3 separate regions of the Homo sapiens genome follow, and all the other regions are linked to region 1. The links are contacts of gene promoters, found by promoter capture Hi-C in blood cells and fetal thymus (Javierre and others, 2016). All regions are on one chromosome and are shown on one strand. Each heading gives the region's core, a stretch centred on a gene start or on the middle of the fragment in contact. The rest is flanking DNA. Distances are from core to core; before and after follow the strand shown.

Evidence for each region. Contacts are between HindIII fragments. The CHiCAGO score rates a contact against its expected background, and 5 or more counts as called.
Region 2: a fragment that was not itself captured here is called in contact with the fragment with the promoter of SSR3 in region 1 in 5 of 17 cell types (M2 macrophages, total B cells, megakaryocytes and 2 more); the score reaches 5.9 in M2 macrophages.
Region 3: a contact is called between a fragment that was not itself captured here and the fragment with the promoter of SSR3 in region 1, in 3 of 17 cell types (megakaryocytes, M2 macrophages and monocytes). The highest score is 11.3, in megakaryocytes.

Annotation. Positions count from the first base shown.
Region 1 is chr3:156,552,943-156,557,786 of GRCh38, reverse strand. It overlaps SSR3 (signal sequence receptor subunit 3), which reads left to right and starts at 2,670. Exons shown (of 5, transcript NM_007107.5): 1 at 2,670-2,830; 2 at 4,006-4,132. The coding sequence starts at 2,698. RefSeq lists an enhancer at 2,732-2,811. The HindIII fragment of the contact is 5,682 bases long and covers 1-3,828 here.
Region 2 is chr3:156,656,473-156,661,316 of GRCh38, reverse strand. No RefSeq gene overlaps it. Among named protein-coding and RNA genes, the nearest start is that of TIPARP, 16 kb to the left of the region's middle. The HindIII fragment of the contact is 929 bases long and covers 2,407-3,335 here.
Region 3 is chr3:156,640,040-156,644,883 of GRCh38, reverse strand. No RefSeq gene overlaps it. Among named protein-coding and RNA genes, the nearest start is that of TIPARP, 32 kb to the left of the region's middle. The HindIII fragment of the contact is 1,672 bases long and covers 1,619-3,290 here.

The DNA of each region.
Region 1 (4,844 bases), core at 1,421-3,920:
AAGTCATCAGTAATCTCTTATCCATATACCTGACAGCAAAAAATATTATTGCTTGGGGTTTTTCCTCCAATCTGAAAAGAATCAAGTGATATAATAGAAAATATACAAGAAAGCCTGAAATTCATAGAATAGACTCAGACTGCTATGGAATCAAGTCCATTTGGTTCCTTCAGAGTTAAGCTATGTTGAAATGGGCAAAATATATTGTAGATCTTTGCTTGGGTAGAATTTACTACCCACCTCTCCTTCTGTTTTTTAGCACATTGTGTACCCTGGTTGTCCAGTGTGCCACGGCTATGTGTGCCACGGCTATATATGCCACATACAAGTGATCCTTAGGTCTTGCTGCTTGCTTTTTAAAGGGAACTAGGTAGCTCTGGTGCAAGAAAACACTGCTTCAGTACTCCAAGTGTGCCACCTTCATAATTGTAATTGTTGCCATTACCAAAAATATTCTATCATAAGTATCATTCCCTATCATATTTCTCTAATTTACCCCCACAAAATAATTTGAAATTCATATTTTAGATTATCTTCTGTTTATAGTTACCTTTAGCTTTACAAAATGTATTAATTTTTTTCTGCTAGCTTTTTTTGATTATATCAATTGTAACATTTATATCCACTAAACATTTCAAACTTTTATCTTTCCTATTTTAATTGTTAAAATATTTTTCTCAGGCATAATTTTTTTAAATCTCATCCTTATCATTTCTTCTTTTCTTCTTTTAAAAGAAAGATGATTGTTGTCTCTTTGGATCTTTTAGTTTTCTGATTTTTTTTTTTTTTTTTTTTTGATGGAGTCTTGCTCTGTTGCCAGGCTGGAGTTGGAGTGTAGTGGCGCGATCTTGACTCACTGCAACCTCTGCCTCCCGGGTTTAAGTGATTCTCCTGCCTCAGCCTCCTGAGTAGCTGGGGACTACAGGCGTGCGCCACCATGCCTGGCTAATTTTTGTATTTTTAGTAAAAGCGAGGTTTCACCATGTTGGCCAGGATGGTCTCGGTCTCTTGACCTTGTGATCCACCCACCTTGGTCTCCCAAAGTGCTGGGATTACAGGCATAAGCCACCGCACCCAGCCTCTGATTTTTATCTTTTATCTTCTTTTTATATCCTTAGTTTGTTTATAAATAGGCAGAAGAAAATCTAGTTATAGAGACAGATCCAAAAAGTTTTATTTATGAATTGGTCATAGATGGAGAAGGAAAAAAATAATTAGTGTTGAAACCCACTATTTTAACCAGAACAACAAATGAGTTTAAAAGAATGCAACTTAGTGAGATAGGAAAAACTGGGGGAGGAGTATGTGTAAGAGAAAATAATAATTTCTTCTTCTATCACTACCATGTAATAAAATAAAGAGCATTTTTAACATCAAAAAAGACATAAACCCAGATATTTTTAAATGAATACTTTTGATTTTCTGAAAAATTCACTAGATGGTCTTTTTTTCTTTTTCATTTTGTGGTGAATTAATGAAAACTTCTGGCATTAAGGAACACTTGCGGTAGATAATGGAAGGATTTATATTTCAGGAAAACTCACTCTGGTACCTGTATAGAGAATAGACTGGAAAAGATTGAAGACAAAAGCCCAATTAGGACTAGTAATAGGAAGCTGTGGAGGTAGATTACAATTTGGATACTGTGAGGAAGAAAGATATCTACCAAACGGTTAATAAGGAGGCTGGAGGTTGAGGAAATTGTGCCTAATGCACTAGAGTGTTCTCAGTAATCAAAAGTAGCATTTGCTGGGAGTGATGTGGTTGAATTTTTTTTTGAAGAAAAAATGATAATGTGTTGAGTTAAAAATGGAATCTAGCTGTTTTAATAGACATACTTAATCCTTCTGAGCTTCAGAGAGGGAGTCTTGCCTAGCCAACCTGTTCTTAGTATTATGTTTTATTTAGCATGGCTTTGGAAGCCACAAAACTCTATAGGTCTAGTTGAAATAAAATAAAATAGTAGTAACTTGTATCAGACATATATTAAATATTGCCTTCATCAATGAGATCATGAGTTTCTTAAAAGCAAGAGTCCCATTTTCTTCTTCCTACAGAGGTGGCCTATTGTTTAGTGAAAAGAGCCCACGCCTTGGAGACCCACACCGCAGGTCTACGACCCTCAGGCTCTTCAGCTGCAATGGCGGTAATGATGCGCACGTCATAAGATTCTTCAAGGTATTTAATGAAATAAAGGATGTGTAAAGGAGAAGGGATTTTACATGAGTTAGCTATACCTTTCTCTTCTTTCTTCTTCAACGTACTCAGTCCTGGGTACGCACAGAGGGCACTAATGGCGTGGGGCCAGAAGAGCTTTTAATTTTGGAATTCTGAAGAACTGAGAACTCGTGAGTCTGTCAGCAGCTCTGAAGTGGAATATCAATAAAGTTTTGTTAATTTTTTTTAAAGCACCGACTAAACTACAAATCCCTTCTCTCTCCTCCAGGTGGGTGGGTCACGTGGCTTGTCAGGAATCCGGAAGTCTGGCCCGCTCGCCCAATCACGCCCGGAAGCCTATCTAGTGGCGCCAAGCTGGCCAATCCTGGGGACGCTTGCTCTTCGCCAAACCGGGTCCCGCCTCCGCGCGCCGCGCTGACGGGTCGTTAGCGGATACGGCGGCCGCAGGGGCGGAGTCAAGGGCCTTTGCCCGCCTTGGCGGCCGGCTCTACGTTCCCTGTTCTCGCCTGCAGCTCCGCCATGGCTCCTAAAGGCAGCTCCAAACAGCAGTCTGAGGAGGACCTGCTCCTGCAGGATTTCAGCCGCAATCTCTCGGCCAAGTCCTCCGCGCTCTTCTTCGGAAACGCGTTCATCGTGTCTGCCATCCCCATCTGTGAGTGCTGGGAGCGAGGCGGGTTAGGCAGGCCGCCGGCTAGTCGGGCTGGGCGGGGACGTGGCAGGACCCGGCGAGCAGGGAAGGCGTGGGTGCCGGCCGGGGGTCGGCAATCTCTCCAGCTCCCCTGAGCTCGGGGAGGCACGGAGCCTCTTCTTTGGGCACAGTGTTGTCGCTTGGGATTGTCCTGTGCAGCACTCGGGGAGGTCACTTGTTAAAAGTACGCACGTTCCCGAGCTCCACCCCAGGAGAAGGTGGTTAACTAGTTCTGGGGTGGCGGCCCCGAATCTCTATTTAAACAGACAAACTCAAGCATACTGCCTCTGCCCTTTTCTATACAACTGTTGCTTGCCGTTACGAAATTTTAAACTTATTACTTATTTTGCATAAATTAGTTAGGTGAGAAACCCATGAAGTGACCCACTGAATTATAAGTGCATCTTTACGTGAGCTACTTCACACCATTGCATAATTTTCCTGGTTTTTGCAAAAAGAGAGAGGTTGAAGTGCCAGGGGTTAGGGATCTACCTTATTTATACTTTTTAATAATCCTACTGGACCAATTCTAGAATTCTCACTTGGTTGGGAAACTGCAGACTTGGACAAGGTCGTTTTTAGTAGAGCTCAAGTTTCCAGAACTCCTGTCTTTTGCTGCACTGTTGTTGGGCATTTAAAACTAAATGTATTTTTCTCTTTTGTCCTTATACAACCCAGCGTGCCATTAACGTGATGTGAAGCCATATGATGGCTCACTAATTGGACATAGCACTGCTTGGAGTTCTGATAACAGCCACGTCAGCAAGGAAACTATGGTTTGGGGCTGCACGTGGCATTTTGGAATGGCCTGTGTTTCGCATGCTAGTACCCTGATGAATGAAATTTGAAGTCTGACTTGTGATTACGTTGAGCCAGAGTTTGTTCTCATTTTAGAAGTTGAAATCTCATCTGGACTAGTAATAGGAAGGTGATGTTTTTCAAATGTTCTGAACTGGAAAGCTTGAGACTATACTGTTACTGGTTATCTCGCTTCTGAAGATCCTCAGATACTATTGGATTGCATAACTAATAACCTGGTATTTTACCAGGCTTAGCTATAATTAATTTCGCAGGCTTTTGTTGCGGGGTTGTAATGTTTTGCTTCTTTTTGTACCCTTCCCCCTTTTATTTTAATTCAGGGTTATACTGGCGAATATGGCATATGGATCTTATTCAGTCTGCTGTTTTGTATAGTGTGATGACCCTAGTAAGCACATATTTGGTAGCCTTTGCATACAAGAATGTGAAATTTGTTCTCAAGCACAAGTAAGTATGTTTTTCAAGTGAAAGTACGTACTACATGTTATATTTTTATATGTCTTCTTAAAGATCATTTGTGTGTGTTGGTTTTAATAAGCATTAATTTGAGATATATATATTAATAAACATTTTGGGGGAAAGGAACATTGATGCTAGGAAGAATTATTAACTAACTGAAGTAGAGACAATGATCATTCTGACACGGCTACAGAAGCAGATTTTGAGGGTGGAATTAGAACACTTAAACACAGGCCTTAATATGAGGTTCATCAGAGAAACAAACCCACCAAGTAAGTTAACATTTCAGAAGCTAAATGTAATTCCTTATGGAGAGAATTGTTCTGGGCTCTTCACGTACTATTTTTGGAAGTTAAAGAAATGATCTTTTTGTCATTATTATTTTTTGAGACAAGGTCTAGTTCTTGCCCAGTCTGCAGTGCAGTGGCATGATTATGGTTCACTGCAGCCTCAACCTTCCCAGGCTCAAGGGATCCTCCCACCTCAGCCTCCCAAGTAGCTGGGCCTACAGGTGCAGGCTACCATGCCCAGCTAATTTTTTTGTAGAGACAGGCCATGTTGACCAGGCTGGTCTTTTTATTTTATTGCTTTTTTTTTTTTTTAACTCTCTGTCATTTTCAATGCTAATTACGTTTGTTTTCATACAAGTGTATAAAATGTAAAGGATTAACATAGTCTAAGATCACACATACTGTAAAAT
Region 2 (4,844 bases), core at 1,622-4,121, 100 kb before region 1:
TTCCTCTTTCTAATATCTGTTTTGTTTTGTTTTGTTTTGTTTTTTTGAGACAGAGTCTTGCTCTGTAGCCCAGGCTGGAGTGCAGTGGTGCAATCTTGCTCACTGCTACCTCTGCTTCCCAGGTCCCGGTTCAAGCAATTCTCCTGCCTCAGCTTCCTGAGTAGCTGGGATTACAGGCAGGAGCCACCATGCCCAGCTAATTTTATTTTTGTAATTTTAGTAGAGACAGGGTTTCACCATGTTGGCCAGGCTGGTCTTGAACTCCTGACCTCGTGATCCACCTGCCTCGGCCTCCCAAAGTGCTGGGAGTACAGGCATGAGCCACCGTGCCCGGCCTTTAATATCTATTTTTGTAAAATATTTTGTGAGTTTATCACTGGGAGACAAGGAAGTAACACAATTTCACGCCTTGCTGTCTGTGCATGAACTGAAAAACAGATGTGCAGTGATCAATTGCTGACAGATTTTCAAAGCAGTGAATGATTGGTCACTGTCATTGATGATGATGCACATTTGTTAATTACATAATGGTTGGCAGACTGAAGTTCTTGCAGTGAAGTTTGTACTTTGTGTAATTACATTTAGTAGGCATAGTCACCGAAATTTGAATCATGTCATTGGGTAACTGCCTTTGTGTATGTATGTGTATATGCATATATGCATAGTTATGTGTGTGAATCTAGAAAAAGGTTATATAGGTAGCCCATTGTATTATTCTTGCAGCTTTTCTGCCACTTTCAAGTTTATCTTAATAAAAGTTAGGGGTGGGAGGGTGGGAAGGAAGCAGATCATAAGGAGATAAGACAACGCAATAGAAAATCTAAAGAAAGAATAGATAAGCCAGGCGCCCTGGCTCACACCTGTAATCCCAGCACTTTGGGAGGCCGAGGCGGGTGGATCACGAGGTCACGAAATTGAGACCATCCTGGCTAACATGGTGAAACCCCATCTCTACTAAAAATGCAAAAAAAAAAAAAAAAAAAAAAAAATTAGCCGGGCGTGGTGGCGGGCGCCTGTAGTCCCAGCTACTCAGGAGGCTGAGGCAGGAGAATGGCGTGAACCCGGGAGGCGGAGCTTGCAGTGAGCCAAGATCGCGCCACTGCACTCCAGCCTGGGCGACAGAGCGAGACTCCGTCTCAAAAAAAAAAAAAAAAAAGAATAGATAATAAAAACAAACAGGGAATCCAGAGACTAGAAAAGGCTATGGAATCAAACCGCCTGGGTTTGAATCTCATTTTAATTACCAGCCATGTGATCTTAGACAAGTTATGGAATATCTCTGAACTTGTTTCTCTTAAAAATTAGGGCTAAAAGAATATCTACTTCATAGGGTAATATGGATGGTTAAATAACTTTCATATATGAAGTAATTCTAAGTGTACAGATGTGTTAAGATGGGGAGACTTTACTGTCTTTAGATACTAATAAGAATCCAGAAGACAGAGGTTGAAGCTAGGAGAAGAGATAGTGGCGTATGCTTCTTAAGAAGGTGGGAGGGGATGGGATCCAAATAAGAAACAGAGGAGTTGGTCTTGCACTAAGACCCTCTCTATTTTAACAGGAGGGAAAGAGAATAGGATGGGTGAAGGTATAGGTTGGATAGTAACTTTGCTAGGGGGAAGAAGTTATTTAATTTTGTAGTCTCCAAGAAATAAAAGGTGAGGCATTTTCTGAGCATGAACAGCACAATAGGGGATTAGAGGTTGAAGAGAGTGTGGAAGACTTGAGATGGCTCTTGCAGAGACTAAGAGAGCCAGCTGGCCAAATAACTATAACAGCATTGTTGGCAGTGTGGAGGGCCCAGAGTGACTGACCTTAAAATTATAGTTCTTTCAGCCTGCCCTTTTGTGTTTCTTACTTCAGCTGCCAGTGGCTCAGCTGCCTTGGTGCAGGCATGGAGAGTGTGGGCTGTTGAGTTCATCCAGGATTGAGGTTTTTCCAGATGGATGTGAGGAAAAGATAGACAAGAGAATTTATGGTATTGGCAAGGAGGTTACTGAAAGTATGTACCATGAAATCTAACCTGGGAGGGAATTAGTAGTAGAAGAGGGCTAGTGATGAGGGGGAAAATAGGGGGGACCTGTTTTCTTTGGAGAATTGTTGGAGTGCCTTGGGTGTTTCTTTCCTTCTCTCCCAGGCAAAGATAGTGGCATTCCTGTCTCCTTAGCTCAAATAAAAAGGATACTTTATCGAAACCACCTGACGAGGTTTAAATGTGCCTCTGGAGTTTGAAGAGCATTAAGGACTGGTACGAGTAGCTCTGTGCAAATCATCCAGGTTAGAGAAGGTGGGGAGGAAAGGGGAGAAGTGGGCAGGGGCACTGGGAGCAAACTGCACATCCACAAGCAGTGAGGCAAGGGTGGGTGACTGTTTCTCCTGAGCCAGATGTGGGCCTGTGGAGAAGCTTGCCTGGGGCAACCTCATATTCCAAAACTGGCTGGAGGGGGTATGTGACCACAGGGAAGGGAGTGGCCACCAGATAGCCAGGGGCTGAGGAGAGAATTGTAGAGGGCCAGCCTGAGGAGAGACATTGCCTTCACAATGGGAGCATAGTTGGATGTTCCAAGGGGAGTATCTCCCTGAAATTCACAAAAATACCCAGTGAAGTAAAGAGTGAGCAACAGGATTCTGCCATACCGAGAGGCTGCCATAGGTGACTGTGTCTGTGCCTACCAAGTGGGACCTTGATGACCTCTCCTCCCTTTTCCTGATCCAACCCTGAAAGCACAGAGGTAGTTAATTGGGGGTTTAAGAAGGTGGGTGTGGGTGGACAGAGAGCAAGGAGACGGAAGAAGCAGCCGTCTGTATTTCCATCCCTTCTCCCCACCCCCTAGGTTTTCCAGTCTGCTGCAGCAACAAGATGGGGGTGGGGAGGCTCAAATTTTATGAGTGTCATTCAAATTTTATTGAACATTTTAATTACTGAACTGAGACCATTCTTGTGGCTGAGTTACCAGGAGAATTTTTATGACCTGAAAGAAGCCAGGAAAGTAAGTCTGCACTAGGGACAAGGAAAACAAACAAAAAAGCAACTAGCCTATAGAGGAGTTGGAAAAGGGTGATTGATGTGGTTTAGATCTGTGTCCCCGCCCCAATTTCATGTTCAATTGCAATCCCCAATGTTGGTGGTGGGGCCTGGTGGAGGTGATTGGATCATGGTGGTGGTTTCTCATGAATGGTTTAGCACCACTGCTCTTGATGCTATCCTTAAGATAGTGAGTGAGTTCTTGCCAGATCTGGTTGTTTGAAAGTGCATAGCACCTCCCCACTCTTGCTCCTGTTCCTACCATGTGAGATGTCTGCTCTCCCTTTGCCTTCCTCCATGATTGAAAGCTTCCTGAGGCCTCTCCAGAAGCAGAAGCTGCTATGCTGCCTGTACAGCCTGCAGAACCATAAGCCAATCAAACCTCTTTGCTTCATAAATTACCCAGTCCCTGGTATTTCTTTATAGCAGTGCAAGAACGGACTAATAGAGTGATTTAGAGAAAAAAAAAAAACTTGTATTATCATTCTGCTGTATAAAATTCAGTTCATTCACTATAATACTGATCACATCAGTTTAGTAAAATAATGATAACAAGGTCCAGAGTGTGGCTGTGGAAGTAGCTGGCTCTGATGGAGTGGACTAGAAGGTCATTGAGGGTGAAGAAGGCAAGGTATGAGAAGACTTGGTGATGGCTGAGTCATCTTTGTAGATAATGAATTCTTCCATGATGCTGGCAAAGGTTGGGGTTGAAAGACTGCAAGCCCAAGGCCAGTGGTTCTTAAACTTTAGAGCGCATTAGAATCCACCTAGAGAGCCATTAGAAGATAGAGGGGCCCAGGCTTATTGAAGTAGGATACGGCCTGGGCTTCTGTATGTTTTCAACAAGTTCTCAGGTAGTATGAAATACACAACAAAATTTGAGAACCTCTACCCAATATTTAGTGGTGAGTAGTAAGTGATAAATAGGTACATAACCATATCTACCTGAAGAAAGGAAGAGAGGGCAATTTAGCCAAATAGGAGGAATACCCAGGAAGCAATTTTTTTCTTTTTGTTACATGAGGGTAAAGAAGTAGTAGTTTGAGAACAGTAATAGGGTCAACTAGCCTCTCAACCCATTATCCATAACTATTCTTTTTCATTTTTTTTCTTTTTGTGAATATGAGTGTTGTGGATTGAACTGTATCTCCCCTGAAAAAGATCTATTGAAGTCCTAACCTTTAGTACCTCAGAATATGATCTTATTTGGAAATAGAGTCATGATAATTTGGAAATATATGTAATCAGTTAAGATGGGTCCCTAACACAATATAATTGGCATCCTTATAAGAAGATGGCCACATGCAGACACAGAGACAGACAGTGAGAATGCCATGTGATAATGAAGGCAGAGATTAAAGTTATGCAGTTGTAAACCGAGGAAGGCCAAAACCACCAGAAGCTATGAAGGGAGAAAGAAGGATTCCTCCATAGGTTTAAGAAGAATCACGGCCCTGCTGACACCTTATTGTTGACTTCTGTCTTCCACAACACTGAGACAGTACATTTGTGTTGTTTTAAGTCACCCAGGTTGTGATACTTCGTTACAGCAGCCCTGGGAAACTAATACAATAAAGTTGAGATATTCCTTTCTTGGTGTGCCATAAATCATCTCTCCTACATTCTGCCCATGTTGTGTTTTTGTCCCCTTTGCAATGAATTAGTCTGTCTCAGGACAGAGAAACCATGTTTGAGTCAGCAGATGCCATTAGAACAACAAGAAAAAGAAAAGTCTACTGCTTCCCAACATGCTTAAGCTAAAAACACAATATACTTTACGTGTTCTTGATGGAGTAGTCAGCCCCCACACTGGCGTCTG
Region 3 (4,844 bases), core at 1,205-3,704, 87 kb before region 1:
ATAAGTAGCTCTTACATTAATCCAATTAACTTGGAAGATTGTAGGCAGGAATGTACACCAATCATAGTGTCCACTTGTTAAATTTTTTAAATTACAGGACAAAGCATAGGAGAAAATGGCATTTTAAAATTATGGTATTCACATTTAAAAAATACTCAATATATTTTTGTTTTCAACCATGTTTCAGGTGATGAATCTCTACATTTAAGGCAGTGGATTTAGCTGTAAATCTGAAACAAGAAGTGCACAATTTCACCTGTGTTTCCAGACTTCTGGATGCTCTTGTAGTGTTTTTATTGTACTTTTTTCAGATCAACAATTGGACCCATTGCATTATTTTTAGAGATGCTTCACCTGAAAGGCGGTCTGGAGGTTGAAGAAAAAAATATTCAGCATATTATTTGGAAATATAACTAAAATATTGTTTAAAACAAATTCATCCTATGTATCCTCACTATTTTGAACACACTGTCTTACCCTTAGCACTGTATCTATCTCATCAACAGCAAAAATAGAAAAGCCAGACATAGTCTTCTATACTGGGGGGATGGCAGAGCAGAGCAAGGGAGGAGGGGGAAAATAAACCATAACTTCTTGTGGCTGTTCTGGCTGAGGAAAGTTAGGTTTCAACAGCAGGCTTGAAATGAGTTATAGGCTCACTGATGGAGGGGGATGGGTTGAGGGGAGGAAACTATTTTCTGCTCTGGGCTCCCACACTCAACAGGGGAATGGGAAAAGAGTTATGTGCCCTCCAGTACCTCCGAGAACAGCTTTCTTAGTGTTCACCTACTGAGCTTGAGGCAAATTTTCAAGATAGATGATCTAGTTCCTCCTCTCTGTTTAGTGGCTGCCCCTACCCTCAGAGATAGCTGTGCGGAAACCGCATGAGTGTGTGTGTAAGTGCAGGCACGCATGTGTTTGCGTGGAAGGTGGGAGTGGTAGCAGAGGCAGGGGAATGAGGAAGGAGAGGAAAATCTCAGAGAGAATAATGAGGCTGTTGAGTGTGGGAGCCCAGTGCAGAAAATATTCTGGTGCTTGAGAGAGAACAGGAAGGAGTGTGTATTTGTGTATGTTTCTTTTCTTAGATCGTTTCATTCAGGAGGCATCTCCCTGGAGACTGAGGAAATTGTAGGAGTCCCCTGGGGTACTGTCAGCTCTACTTGCTGAGCTTCTGGAGAAAGAGTGAAATACTAGGTAAAGGAGATGCCTCCAGCCGGCTTCCAGGCAGAGGCAGTACTGAGAAGAAGGTGCAGGGAGGTGAGAGGGACCCCTGCCCTGAATAAATTGGAGATATTTCCAGATGTGCTCCCTCCCCACACTCAGCCTCGCTGTGCTAGCTCTCGTCAGGAAGGACAGTAGGATTGTACCATGACTCCCTGAAGCTCTAGGTTGGCAGGAGGGATGCTCCTCACGGTATGCGCTCACCTTCCTTGCTCTGGCCATAACCACTAAGCCTCCCAGCTTCAAATAAGAGCCATTCCTGTGACAACTGCTAAGTCCAGGGAGTGGTTGGAGGGCTGACACTTTCCCTCCTAGGGACTTCAGAAGCCCTGTGGTCTGCCAAAGACTGTCCCTGGCCCTCTGTCCATTCTCCCGAAAGGACTGCCTGCCAGAAGCTTAGAACCAGCAGCCACTAGGGCAGAGGAAGCCTGTGAGTTTGAAATGCCTCACCACACATTTGCAACAGCCTTCTTTGCTACTCTTTTTCATTGCAAATGTGAAGTAATCCATCTGCATTCTTGCTTCTGTGGTCCTATTTATATCATTGTTTCTGGAGAAAGTGTGCTCTATGTTGCAAAAAACAAAAAAAAACCCTGATAAACAAACATCTGAAACACAGACTCTTTAAAGAATAATGTCTTGTAGCCTCTGGGAATGCCACCTATTTACTAAAACAAACATGTCTCACGCATCCTATGCCAGGCTTTGAAACACTGTCAGTGCTTTCATAAACTGGGTCACTGCGGCTAGTGCTCTGGGATGTACAATGACAGGGCAGGAAGTGCCCTTGAATTACACAGTGAGACCCTCTAATTCTCTTTCCTTCTGATTACAACAAGGAGGTTGTTTCAGTTTGGAGCTGATGGATTTGAACACCTTTCCAACACTTGCTTGTTACTATTATTACTGTTTTAACAGGCCATATGTTCAGAGCTTTTTGGCAGGTTTCTGGCTAGAATTTAATTTGTTTGCTTTGTTTTTGTTGCATTTATTTTTGTAATTAACTTCTGTTCATGGCCATTGATATTGGTCTTCCCTTTATGTTGTGATCATGTATTTTAAAAAATAAACTGAAGTCAGACATAAAAGTTCTATTTAAAGAAAGAAATAGTTATGATGTTGTGCAACGTGGCAAAAGCATGTTCAAAAATTTGGGAAACCCAGCGTTCACATATTATAGAGCACCTTGATAAAGTACTGAAAGCAAACTCATTAAAACAGTGTTTCTTGCTACCCATAGGGAACAACTAGGGTTTTTTTTTTAATTGTTTTTAATTTATCATGACCAATTGCTGCTGTAAAATATAATAAAAATGAATTATTATAAACATTATCATGTGCTTGGGTTTAAGGACAATGTCATGTTGCTATATAAGTTATTAAATGCTTACTTTCTGTTTCTGCACTTACCTTGCCACAAAATTCTTACAACCCCCCACGGACCAGCATCCCATCACACTTTGTTATTTATTTATGTATTTATTTATTTATTTTTTAAGATGTAGTCTCGCTTTGTCTCCCAGGCTGGAGTGCAGTGGCACCATCTCAGCTCACTGCAACCTCCGCCTCTTGGGTTCAAGTGATTCTCCTGCCTCAGCCTCCCGAGTAGCTGGGATGACTACAGGCACACTCCACCATGCTGGGCTAATTTTTTTATATGTTTAGTAGAGATGGGGTTTTGCCATGTTGGCCAGGCTCTTCTTGAACTCCTGACCTCAGGTGAGCCTCTCACCTTGGCCTCTCAAAGTGCTTGGATTACAGATATGAGCAACTGCTCCTGGTTCCATCACACTTTGGAAGTAGAAGGTGAGTTCTGCCTAAGCAAAATCAAGCAAGTTAATCCTAAAGATAGTTCAGAGGGAATACTGGCCTACCCAGGTTGAGAAAGCCCTTCACAGTTGTTTTATTTTTAGTACCATCTAGACATTCTTTCATTTATCCAACAGAGAGTATCTACGATGTGCAAGATATTACACAAAACCCCAGGAGGTAGGGGTTGAGGGGAGTAGAAAAGGATGACTACAACAAGAGATAAGTTAAAAATAAATTAATTAAAACCCCAGGAAGCTTATAATGTAATACTGAAGACAGAATATATATTACAAAGCAATTGGTTGTCAGGACCCATGAGTAAGAGTCTAAATATAATAGAAATGTAATGTAATAGAATCAGTACTGAGCTAATTCCATGCACTTCCCTGTTCTCTAATGCCTCAGAGAGATATCCTCAAGGCAGGTGGGTGAGGTGGGCACTGCTGTCCCTGGATCAAGCAAGTGGAGGATGGTCATTAGCCAGAATGGCTAAAATCCTTCTGAGGGAGGCCTTTAACATCCATCATGGCAATAATTCAATCTAGGAAGTTTAGTTTTTTTATTTTCCACAAGGCCATCATGAAGACAAGCAGGAGTGTGAGAATTTGTAAGCCATAATTTGCAAATGTAAATTAACAAGGCTGCATTTCTACAATTTTTTGTTTGCCTGGATTGTCTCTGACTGCAACTTTGTCTTGGTGAACAGATCTGCCCATTCCACCCAAATGGGAAATCCCCTTGCCTGTTCCCAGTACTGAGTAGACCTGGGGCTACCCATGGCTGAGTGCAAAATAGAAGACAAGCCACTGGACCTTAGAAATAGTGCATGAGGGGCCAGGTATGGTGGCTCACATCTGTAATCCCAGCACTTTGGGAGGCCAAGGTGGGCGGATCACCTGAGGTCAGGAGTTGGAGACCAGCCTGGCTAACATGGTGAAACCCTCACCTGTACAAAAATACAAAAATTAGCTGGGTGTGATGGCAGTTGCCTGTAGTCCCAGCTACTGGGGAGGCTGAGGCAGGAGAATCGCTTAAACTCAGGAGGCGGAGGTTGCAGTGACCCGAGATCATGCCACTCTACTCCAGCCTGGGCAACAGAGTGAGACTCCATCTCAAACAAACAAACAAACAAACAAAAAAAGAAAGAAATAGTGCATGAGTTGAAGTCTAGGGAAGAATAGAACTATTGAAACTGTTCTCATTTTAAAGGAACCTTCTGTGTGCAGTAGGAAGTACTATTTGGGTTATGGAACAAAAATATGTAAATTCATGATTTTATAATTTGGTAAAAGGTGTTAAAATATTCACAGGAAAGGCTAATAAAATGTATATGAAATACAACAAAAAATACAAAGAGATGACAAGATCAATTTGCCAAATTCATTTATTCATTCCCCAAAACATTTATTGAATGCCTACTATATGCTAGGTGCTGTTTCAGTGCTACGGATCAATGAAAACAAACAAACAAATGAACAGACAAATTCCTGCTCACGTACAGCTTACATTCTAGGGTGGGAGACAGATAAAACCAAGTTAACTGAATATATAGCATGTTAGATGTTGACAAATGCAATAGATTTGATACCATCTAACAACAGATAAAAAGAAAATATGGAATGTAAGGAACTGTGCATGAGGGAGAAAGGGAAATTAGTGTTTTAATAGGGGGACCTGGGAAAGCCTTGCTAAGAAGGTACCACTTAAGTAAAGATGTGATGGAGTTGAGGGAGTGAGCCATGGTGATATCTGGGGGAAGAGCCTTGTGGGAAGAAGGAATAGCAAGTCCAAAGGTCTGAGACAGGGTCATG